Linked DNA regions of Homo sapiens: region 2 is linked to region 1. Evidence: promoter capture Hi-C in 16 types of primary human blood cells and fetal thymus (Javierre and others, 2016). All regions are on one chromosome and are shown on one strand. The core of a region is centred on a gene start or on the middle of the fragment in contact, and the rest is flanking DNA. Distances in the headings are between cores, read along the strand shown.

The links. The method cuts DNA at HindIII sites, captures the fragments that hold promoters and counts their contacts. A CHiCAGO score of 5 or more calls a contact.
Region 2: the fragment with the promoter of FAM117B here is called in contact with the fragment with the promoter of ANKRD44-AS1 in region 1 in 1 of 17 cell types (naive CD8 T cells); the score reaches 6.5 in naive CD8 T cells.

The regions. Positions count from the first base shown.
Region 1 is chr2:197,196,199-197,200,479 of GRCh38, reverse strand. It overlaps ANKRD44-AS1 (ANKRD44 antisense RNA 1), which reads right to left and starts at 2,489. Exons shown (of 2, transcript NR_135584.1): 1 at 2,391-2,489; 2 at 1,207-1,562. All of the region lies in intron 1 of ANKRD44 (ankyrin repeat domain 44), which reads left to right. RefSeq lists an enhancer at 1,374-1,443. The HindIII fragment of the contact is 4,177 bases long and covers 1,292-4,281 here.
Region 2 is chr2:202,633,191-202,637,471 of GRCh38, reverse strand. It overlaps FAM117B (family with sequence similarity 117 member B), which reads right to left and starts at 2,503. Exons shown (of 8, transcript NM_173511.4): 1 at 1,684-2,503. The coding sequence starts at 2,284. RefSeq lists silencers at 1,456-1,895, 1,996-2,045, 2,236-2,465. The HindIII fragment of the contact is 4,588 bases long and covers 938-4,281 here.

The DNA.
Region 1 (4,281 bases), core at 1,240-3,739:
GGGAGGAGTATGAGAAGAGGGTGTTTAGAAATGCTGTAACTCAGGACATTCTCCTGAGCATATACATGTCTAAAGTCAGTGCTGTGCCCTGCCTCATTTGTCATTCCAAAATACATTTTTTTCCTTCCTCCATCTAAACCATGTTCAGGCCTTGTTCAAGTCCTGCCTCCTCCAGAGACACCACTCTGGCTTCTTAGCCTTTCATGCTTCCCCTTTTCTGAATCAAGAAGGCTCCTAGAATATTATGGCTAAAGGCACCTCCAGATTACCTCTCCAATCTGTCATTGTGCAGAAGGACAACTTGGCATCCATTTGCATGAGGTCTGTAGAACATGGTTCAGTACTGTCTTACACAGTTTAAGTGTTTTGTGTGGGTTAGGCTTATTTCCCCAACTATATTTGGCAGTCTTTTAGGAAAGGACTATGTCACACATTTCTTTTGTATATTTCATAAAAATAGCATATTGTAGGTACTCAGAAAATGCTTTTGGCTCTGGTAGCACTTCTCTGTGCAATGTGGATAAGCACTGATAGAGGCTTGTTTGTTGTGGTACAAACTAGAAACAACCCAAATGCCCATTCGAAGGGGAATAATTGAATATGTTATGGCATATCCATACAATGGAATAGTATTATATATAGTTATTAAGAGAAATGATTTAATCCTGTAGCTATCGACCTGGGGGATGTCCTCAGTACATCATTATTTTTGCAAATTGTAAGAGAGGGAAATAAGCCAGGCATGGTGGTATGCATCTGTAATCCAGACTACTTGGATTACAGATACTTGGGTGGGAGGATCGCTTGAACCCAAGAATTTGAGACCACCCTGGACAATATAGCAAGACCCCCATCTCAAAAAAAGTGTGTGTGTGGGAAATAGTAAAATCCCATTTTCTGATAATAAATAACGATAATCTCATATATCTGTATCTGTACCTACCAACAAGAACACGGGCTGTTCACATTTGTGGTAGGAAAGGTTATTAAGTTTTTTCTTTATCTGTTTTTGTATTGTTGCAACAGGAAACCTACTAAGATTAAAATCCAGCAAACATAAGACAAAGATAAAATGCACAGGGGTTTTGATGCATTAGGTGTTTCCCATAGTACTTCCTATTTTTCAAACTTCGTGTGATTAAAAAAGTAAGTTTTATCCCTGACTAAATTTCAGTGTGGAAATAAAGAAATAAAGATAGCATGTACTTGGCTTAGGTATACTTGTTTTGTTCTTTCAGCTCGTTACGTAAAGATACATTTTTTTTTCTTTCTCATGACATGAAGATAAGCTTTCTTCTTACCAAAACCTAAACTGTGAAGGCAGCACCCAAGCCAAAAGCCTCGAGGCTCTGGTTTCTGTGGTGGGATGGGGAGAGAAGTAGGTTGCACAGATGTAGGATGCCAGCTGACTTCAGAACTTCCGGTCTCAGAGCTAACCAGGCTCGGCAAGCCACAAGAGAGAAGGAGCTTGCATAGGTGGAAGAGCAAAGAAAGCCAGTGCTGCAGAACTTCCGGTGCTCCTCCGCCGATGTCGGGCTGGCGCTGCTCCCGAGCCCTGTGTCCTGTGGAAGAAGTTGGTGAGAATCGTTTTGAATGTAGGCAGCCACTCCTGAGGAGGCTAGCCCTTGCTACATTAAAGGTGGAGCTAGATTTACATTTTATTTTATTTTATTTTATTTTTTATTTTTCGAGATGGAGTCTTGCTGTCGCCCAGGCTGGAGTGCAGTAGCACGATTTCAGCTCACTGCAACCTCCACCTCCCGGGCTCAAGCGATTCACCTGCTTCAGCCTCCCGAGTAGCTGGGATTACAGGGGCACGCCACCATGCCTGGCTAATTTTTTGTATTTTTAGTAGAGACGGGGTTTCACCATGTTGGCCAGGCTGGTCTCAAACTCCTGGCCTCAGGTGATCCACCTGCCTCGGCCTCCCAAAGTGCTGGGATTACAGACGTGAGCCACCATGCCCGGTCAAATTTACCTTTTAGATTCACATATTACCACCAGAAGAATGCTTCCTCTGACAACTGAGCGGTACTCCATCCCCAGAGCCCTTTGTGCAGACTATTATTGCAGTTTCCTAACTTGTTATGACACTCCAGCCTTTTCCTCCAGGTCATCATACAATCCATTTTTAGAGTGATTGTTCTAAAGCACAAATCTTAGGTCACTCCCCTGCTCAAAAACCACCCACTGCTCCCCCAGTTCCACAGAAGAGAGCTCAAATTTCTTAGCTTGGTATTCAAGACCTTCCATGATAGGATCCCTGTCTACTACTCAGCTTACCTCACTTCTCCCCTCCTCCAGCCAAATGAAACTGTTCCCTGTGTATGTTCAGGCTCCCTAGCTTCTGCTCACAGCCTTCTGAATATGAAGAAGGGAAAGTCCCTTACCATTCCATCCGTCTCTACCTGTTTAAATCCTCCCCAGTCTTCAATATTCATTTCAGAGGCTGCGTCTTTCAGGAGGCCAGGTACAATTTCTCTCCCTTCTCCATGCACTTCTCCTGCGGCCTGTGCCTTACATTCTAGCTGTGCGTATTTGTATACTTCCTGTTACACCTTGGTAACCTCATCAAGGGAGAGACTGACTCTGACATTCCAGTGTCTGAATTTCTTTCTTTCTTTTTCTTTTTCTGTGTTTCTTTCTTTCTTTTTTTTTTTTTTTTTTTTTGAGACAGGATTTCACTCTGTCACCCAGGCTGGAGTGCAATGGTGTGAGCATGGCTCACTGCAGCCTCAATTTCCTGGGCTCAGTTGGTTCTCCCACCTCAGCCTCCCGAGTCGCTGGGACTACAGGTGTGCGCCACCGTGCCCAGCTAATTTTTGCATTTTTAGTGGAGATGTGGTTTCACCATGTGTCTAGGCTGGTCTGGAACTCCTGGATTCAAGTGATCCGCCTGCCTTGGTCTCCCAAAGTGTTGGGATTACAAGCATGAGCTACTGCGCCCGGCCTCCAGTGTCTGAATTTCTTATGCTCAGTAAATGTCTTATGCTTAATACATCTTTGTTGAATTGAATGTGGTTATCTGAAATGTACCAAATTAAGTTTTAGAAAACATATCTTTTATCCCCTGTTGGAGGGGGTAGTGTGTAAAGAAATAAAGGAGCTACGCACTGGGTTGGTGTCTGTGAAAGGAAATATGATATGACTTCTTTTTTTTTGCAGAATTTCCCATTTTCCCATTTTATATTATCGAATGTTTTCCAGTCTCTTAGGCTCCTCTCTCTTCCTGCTGCCTTATCCTTTCCCTTTGACATCTGTCACTGGATGTCCTTACCATGATTTTGGATGGGGAAATGAGAAGATGCTTCCTGAAAGACTACACTGAGGGGATTCTCTAATAGATTTTCATTCCATGTGACTTTTTCTGGCTGGGGAGGGAGTAGGGGACCTTCCAGTCATCTCAGGCAGAAACTAATTCAGGTCCTGATCAACCCACTGCCTTAAATTTTAGAATGGTTGCTATAACAATTTTAGAATGGTTGCTATAACAAGATGCCTTAGGAAAAAAAAAATTGACAATGGCCAGAACAGGAAGGTGACTCCGTTTTACACATGTCCCTAGTCCCTCACCTGTGGAGAGGTGGTGAGAGTTTAACTGCTTGCTGTCTTTCCAAGAATGCACGTGGAATTCAAAGAAAAGAACAGTAGAAGGGAAGGAGAGGGTTTAAAGGAAAATTGTCATGGGCTTTGGAAAGACCTGATTGTGTAAAAATTGCTTGCTGGTGTTTGGAAAGAACCCAGGTGCTAACAGATTTTAGACAAACCCAATCTGGAGTTGCCTAAATCATGAATGATTTAATGTGACTGAGTTAATCCATATATCTTGTATACAGTAGTTCCAGCCTCCTCAAATGTAGCAGGAGATTGCCACCTTTCTGAGAGTACCTTTCATTTCTACATGCTGATTTTGTTGTTGTTTTTAAAGGACACTTGAATTGCTTTATTTAGCTTCCAATTTGTGAGATTCTCAAAAATTAAAATTACTCATGACCACAAGAAGATACTTCTGTAGTTATGGATCATTTTCTGCTATTTTTTATAAGGAATACTTTTTTATTGTTGTCTTTTTTATAAGTGATGCACATACCAGGTAGTAATAAAAAGTCATGTTTTCCAGTGCACCCTAAAACTGAACTGCTGTCTCTATTTGAACAGACAAATAAATTATACTGAATATACCTACAACCCTGAAAATCATCTTCTGGCCATTTTTCTTTTTTCCCCACAAAGATCACTAAAGTGGTTTATATTGATTAACATTATTAAATCCACCTCTCA
Region 2 (4,281 bases), core at 1,254-3,753, 5.4 Mb before region 1:
CATCCTGGCAAACATGGTGAAACCCCATCTCTACTAAAATACAAAAATTAGCCGGGCATGATGGCGGGTGCCTGTAATCCCAGCTACTCGGGAGGCTGAGATAGGAGAATCGCTTGAACCCAGGAGACCATGGTTGCAGTGAGCCGAGATCACATAACTGCACTCCAGCCTGGGCAGCTGAGCAAGACTCCGTCTCAAAAAATAAATAAAAATATAAATAAAAATAAATACATAAATAAAACAGTGCTCTGGTTCTAATTAGAAAACACTATTCGGGCCGGGCGCAGTGGCGCATGCCTGTAATCCCAGCATTCTGGGAAGCCAAGGCGGGCGTTTCACCTGAGGTCAGGAGTTCGAGACCAGCCTGGCCAACATGGTGAAACCCTGTCTCTACTAAAAATACAAAAATTAGCCGGGCATGGTGGCGGTCGCCTGTAATCCCAGCTACTCAGGAGACTGAGGCAGAATCGTTTGAACCCGGGAGTTGGAGGCTGCAGTAAGCCGAGATCGTGTAACTGCACTCCAGCCTGGGCAACAGAAACTCTGTCTCAAAAAAAGAAAATACTATTCATCATTTTCCAGGGCAATTCTCTCTAAATAAGTATTATCTAAAACTTTCATAAAATAAATAGTAAGAAAGAGTCATCCTATTCCTTCCATTTCGGAAACTATTTCATCTGAATTTGTTTCCTGAAATTCCCAACCATTCTGCCTGGAAAATTCTAACAGAAGTTCCCCAGACAAGGAAAGACAAAGATATATGTTGACAAAAATGAATACGTAAGTAAAAACCACCCATTTCTTTCCTTAAGGCAACAAGATTATAAATTTTATTCCTTTCCACTTCCCACAATTTGAATTTCTCTTTTGAGTTACTCTTTATGAATGACTCCATTGGCACCCAACAGCTCCATTCAGGACCTTCCCCAAGAAAGCTTCCAGGTAAACAGAAAAACAACGAATGTTAGCTCCCTAAAACAATAACAAGATGGAGACAAAACACTGGATTCTGTTTTTCTACATTCAAAACACAGAATCAGTACACAAAATCAGAAATACACCCAGAGCCTCAGACAAAACCCATAAACCTTCCTAAGGAATCTTGTTTAATTTTCACTTCTTGCTACCCATTTATCAAGTCTTAGGAAATGCTAAAACACGGTTCTCAGCCTCCTCTGTTCAGTGATCCAAATCTGCCACTGCTAATGCATTCAGTACCCCAGATCTGAAACTGTTTTGTGAACAGAAATACTTAGCAGCAGCAGATATGGGCTATGCCAACATTAACCTTGTCCCTAAAACAAAGTGACAAACCACTCCTAGCCTCACCCTCAAGGGAGGGTAAGCAGTAACGACTCCTCCAGGAGTAAGGCCAGGAAGCCAGGTTTATCATTAACACTCATCAGCTCAAGCCCAAGGTTTAGCCGCTGCACCTCCACCACCAGGGAGCCGTGCGGGGCGGGCAGAGGGGTGAATGAGGCGGGCGGGCGGGCGGGGCGTAGGGTAGGCCCGGGAAAGGCGGGGCCGCACTGCCGGGTCCCCCACCGCCCGGCACCGCCCCCAGCCCCGCCCCCAGCCACCCGGGCTCCGCGGCAGCTCTGCAGTCCCCGCGCGATTGCAGCGCGCGCCCGGGACCCCTTCCCGCAGCCGCCTCCCCCTTGCTGCGCGACCCCCAGCACTTACCTGCTTTGCAAACCGGGGCGCTGGGGCTCCTCTTCTCCGGCGAGCTTCGGCTCTGCTCCGGAGACCTCCTCCGATGCCGGACGCGGGCTGGGGGTGGGGCCGCGCTCACCTCGCCGGTCCACAGGTGGGTGGGCGACGAGCTGGGCGACGACACGGTGCCCAGCAGCGGCGGCGGCGGCGGCGGCCGTGGGGGGCTCCCGCGAGCTCCAGGCGCGGCGCTGCGCGTGGGGCTGGTGCCTCGCGTGGACGTCGCGGACGCGCCCGTCTGCGTGGCCACCGTGGGGCTGGTGCGCGCGGCCGCGTTCCCGCCGCCGCGCGTGGGGCTGGTGCTGCGCGAGGCGGTGCGCGGGCCACCGCCGCCGCCGCCGCCTGCGGGGCCTGAGGCGCCACCACAGCAGCCACCGTTGTTGTTGCCGCCGCCGCCGCCGCCGCTCCGCGTGGGGCTGCCATGTTGCTGCTGCTGCTGCTGCTTCAGCTGGAACGGAACCGTCGCCCTCATGGGCTGCAAGCGGCTCCCGGGTCCCCCGGCCGTGGCCACCGCACCACCCCCAAGGGAGCCGGCCGGCGTGGGGGACCCATTGCGCCTCACCCGCTGGGACATGGTCCCCCCCCTCCCCGGTGACTGGGCGAGACGGGGGGTTTTGTTGTTGTTGGGCTGCAGGGGGAGGATTCTCGAGGCCGGAGGGCAGGCCCCCCAAGACGGGGTGACGAAGCCGGACTCCGGGGTGCAGGGGGAGACCGGGCCGGGGCAGGCAGCAACGAGGTGGTGCAGCCGCCGCCGCCGCCGCCGCCGCTCCTCATCAACAATAGTGTCTCCTCTGCTGCCCCCGCCCCCCACGATCGCCCATTGGTGCAGCGTCAGCCGCGCTCGAGCCGCTCCACTGCTCCCATTGGCTACGAGCAGCTCGGGTCCCGGGCCCCCGAGGCCTTGAGAGCCTGGGTGTGCGCGGAGACCGTCTGCTCTTTAAAGAGAAAGAGACCCGCCCCCCGCGGGGAGGGAGCGGAGGAAATGGGCCCTGTGTGTATGTGTAGTGTGCGCGCGTGTGTGTGTACACGTGAGTGCCCGTGTACGCGCGCGCCTAGCCACGCGCGCCTTTCCTTTCCCGCCGGGGGGAGCCCTGGGGACTCAGACTCTGGAAGGTTGCCAAAGGAAATGTCCAGACCCGGAGCAGTTCCCAGGGATGGTCTGAAGCCTTTTCCGCATAACTCATTTCCTTACCCCAGTGTTCACTTGTGTTCACCTGTACGCGCATCTCGTTCGGGCTTTTATTCTTAATGTTTTTGTTCTGCCCTAATTCCATCTACCTATGGGCAGGGCTCAAAAGGAGAAGAAATTTAACTAATCTTACTGGCATTTTACGCCCCTCTCCTTTTATTTTTTAGAGCTCTACAAAGAGGCAAATCTCAGAAAGATTAAACTTGCCTGTTAGAATGCGATTTTAGATAGTATCTATAGAGTTCAGTTACCACATGTTATTCCTACCCTCCTGTATCTCAAGTAATCAAGACTATTTTAATCAGCTGCTTCGCTGTTCCCTGATACCTTGGAAGGATGGCTGCTACCTTACCAGTTTGTAAAGTGCTATAGTTTACAGAGGGCCTTATTTGATTCTACACGATCATTGTTTGAGACAGAACTGGGACAGCCATCCATATTTTTGTCTAGCGGAGGAAACAAGTCTTTGGTGTGGCAAAGACTCGGGAAGGCAGGCAGTGACACTATTTCTAAAATGACCTAAAGGGCTCCTCATCAAGAAAATAAAAAATGGTGGAGCCAAAACCTACACTCCCACCTGTCTGGCTATAAATTGCCTATCCATGACCTCTTTTCCCTCTACTATTTTTATTAGTTGTACATGCTAGACAGATTTCGTCGTGTAAAAATGTGGGAGTGGAGGGCATAGTATGATTCACTCTGGACCTGAAATCCTACTGGGTCCCTTTGCGCGGTGGTGGAAGGCCTTTTTTTTTTTTTTTTGAGAAGAAGTCTCTCTCTGTCACCTAGGCTGGAGTGCAGTGGCGGAGTGCACTGGCTCGAATCTCGGCTCAGTGCAACCTCCGCCTCCCGCGTTCAAGCAATTCTCCTGCCTCCGCCTCCCAAGTAGCTGGGATTACAGGCGCGTGCCGCCACGCCCCGTAATTTTTCTGTTTTTAGTAAAGAGGCGGTTTCACCATGTTGGCCAGGGTGGTCTTGATCTCTTGATCTCATGATCCGCCCACCTCGGCCTCCAAAAATGCTGGAATTACAGGCGTGAGGTGGAAGGCTTTTAAAGACCTAGAGAGGAGGCCGGGTGTGGTGGCTCATGCCTGTAATCCCAGCACTTTGAGAGGCTGAGGCGGGCGGATCACCTGAGGTCGGGAGTTCGAGACCAGCTTGACCAACATGGAGGAAACCCCGTCTCTACTAAAAATACAAAATTAGCCGGGCGTGGTGGCACATGCCTGTAATCTCAGCTACTCGGGAGGCTGAGGCAGGAGAATCGCTTGAACCCGGGAGGCAGAGGTTGGAAGGAGCCGAGATCGTTCCATTGCACTCCAGCCTGGGCAACAAGAGCGAAACTCTGTCTTAAAAAAAAAAAAAATTAAAAAAAAAAGACC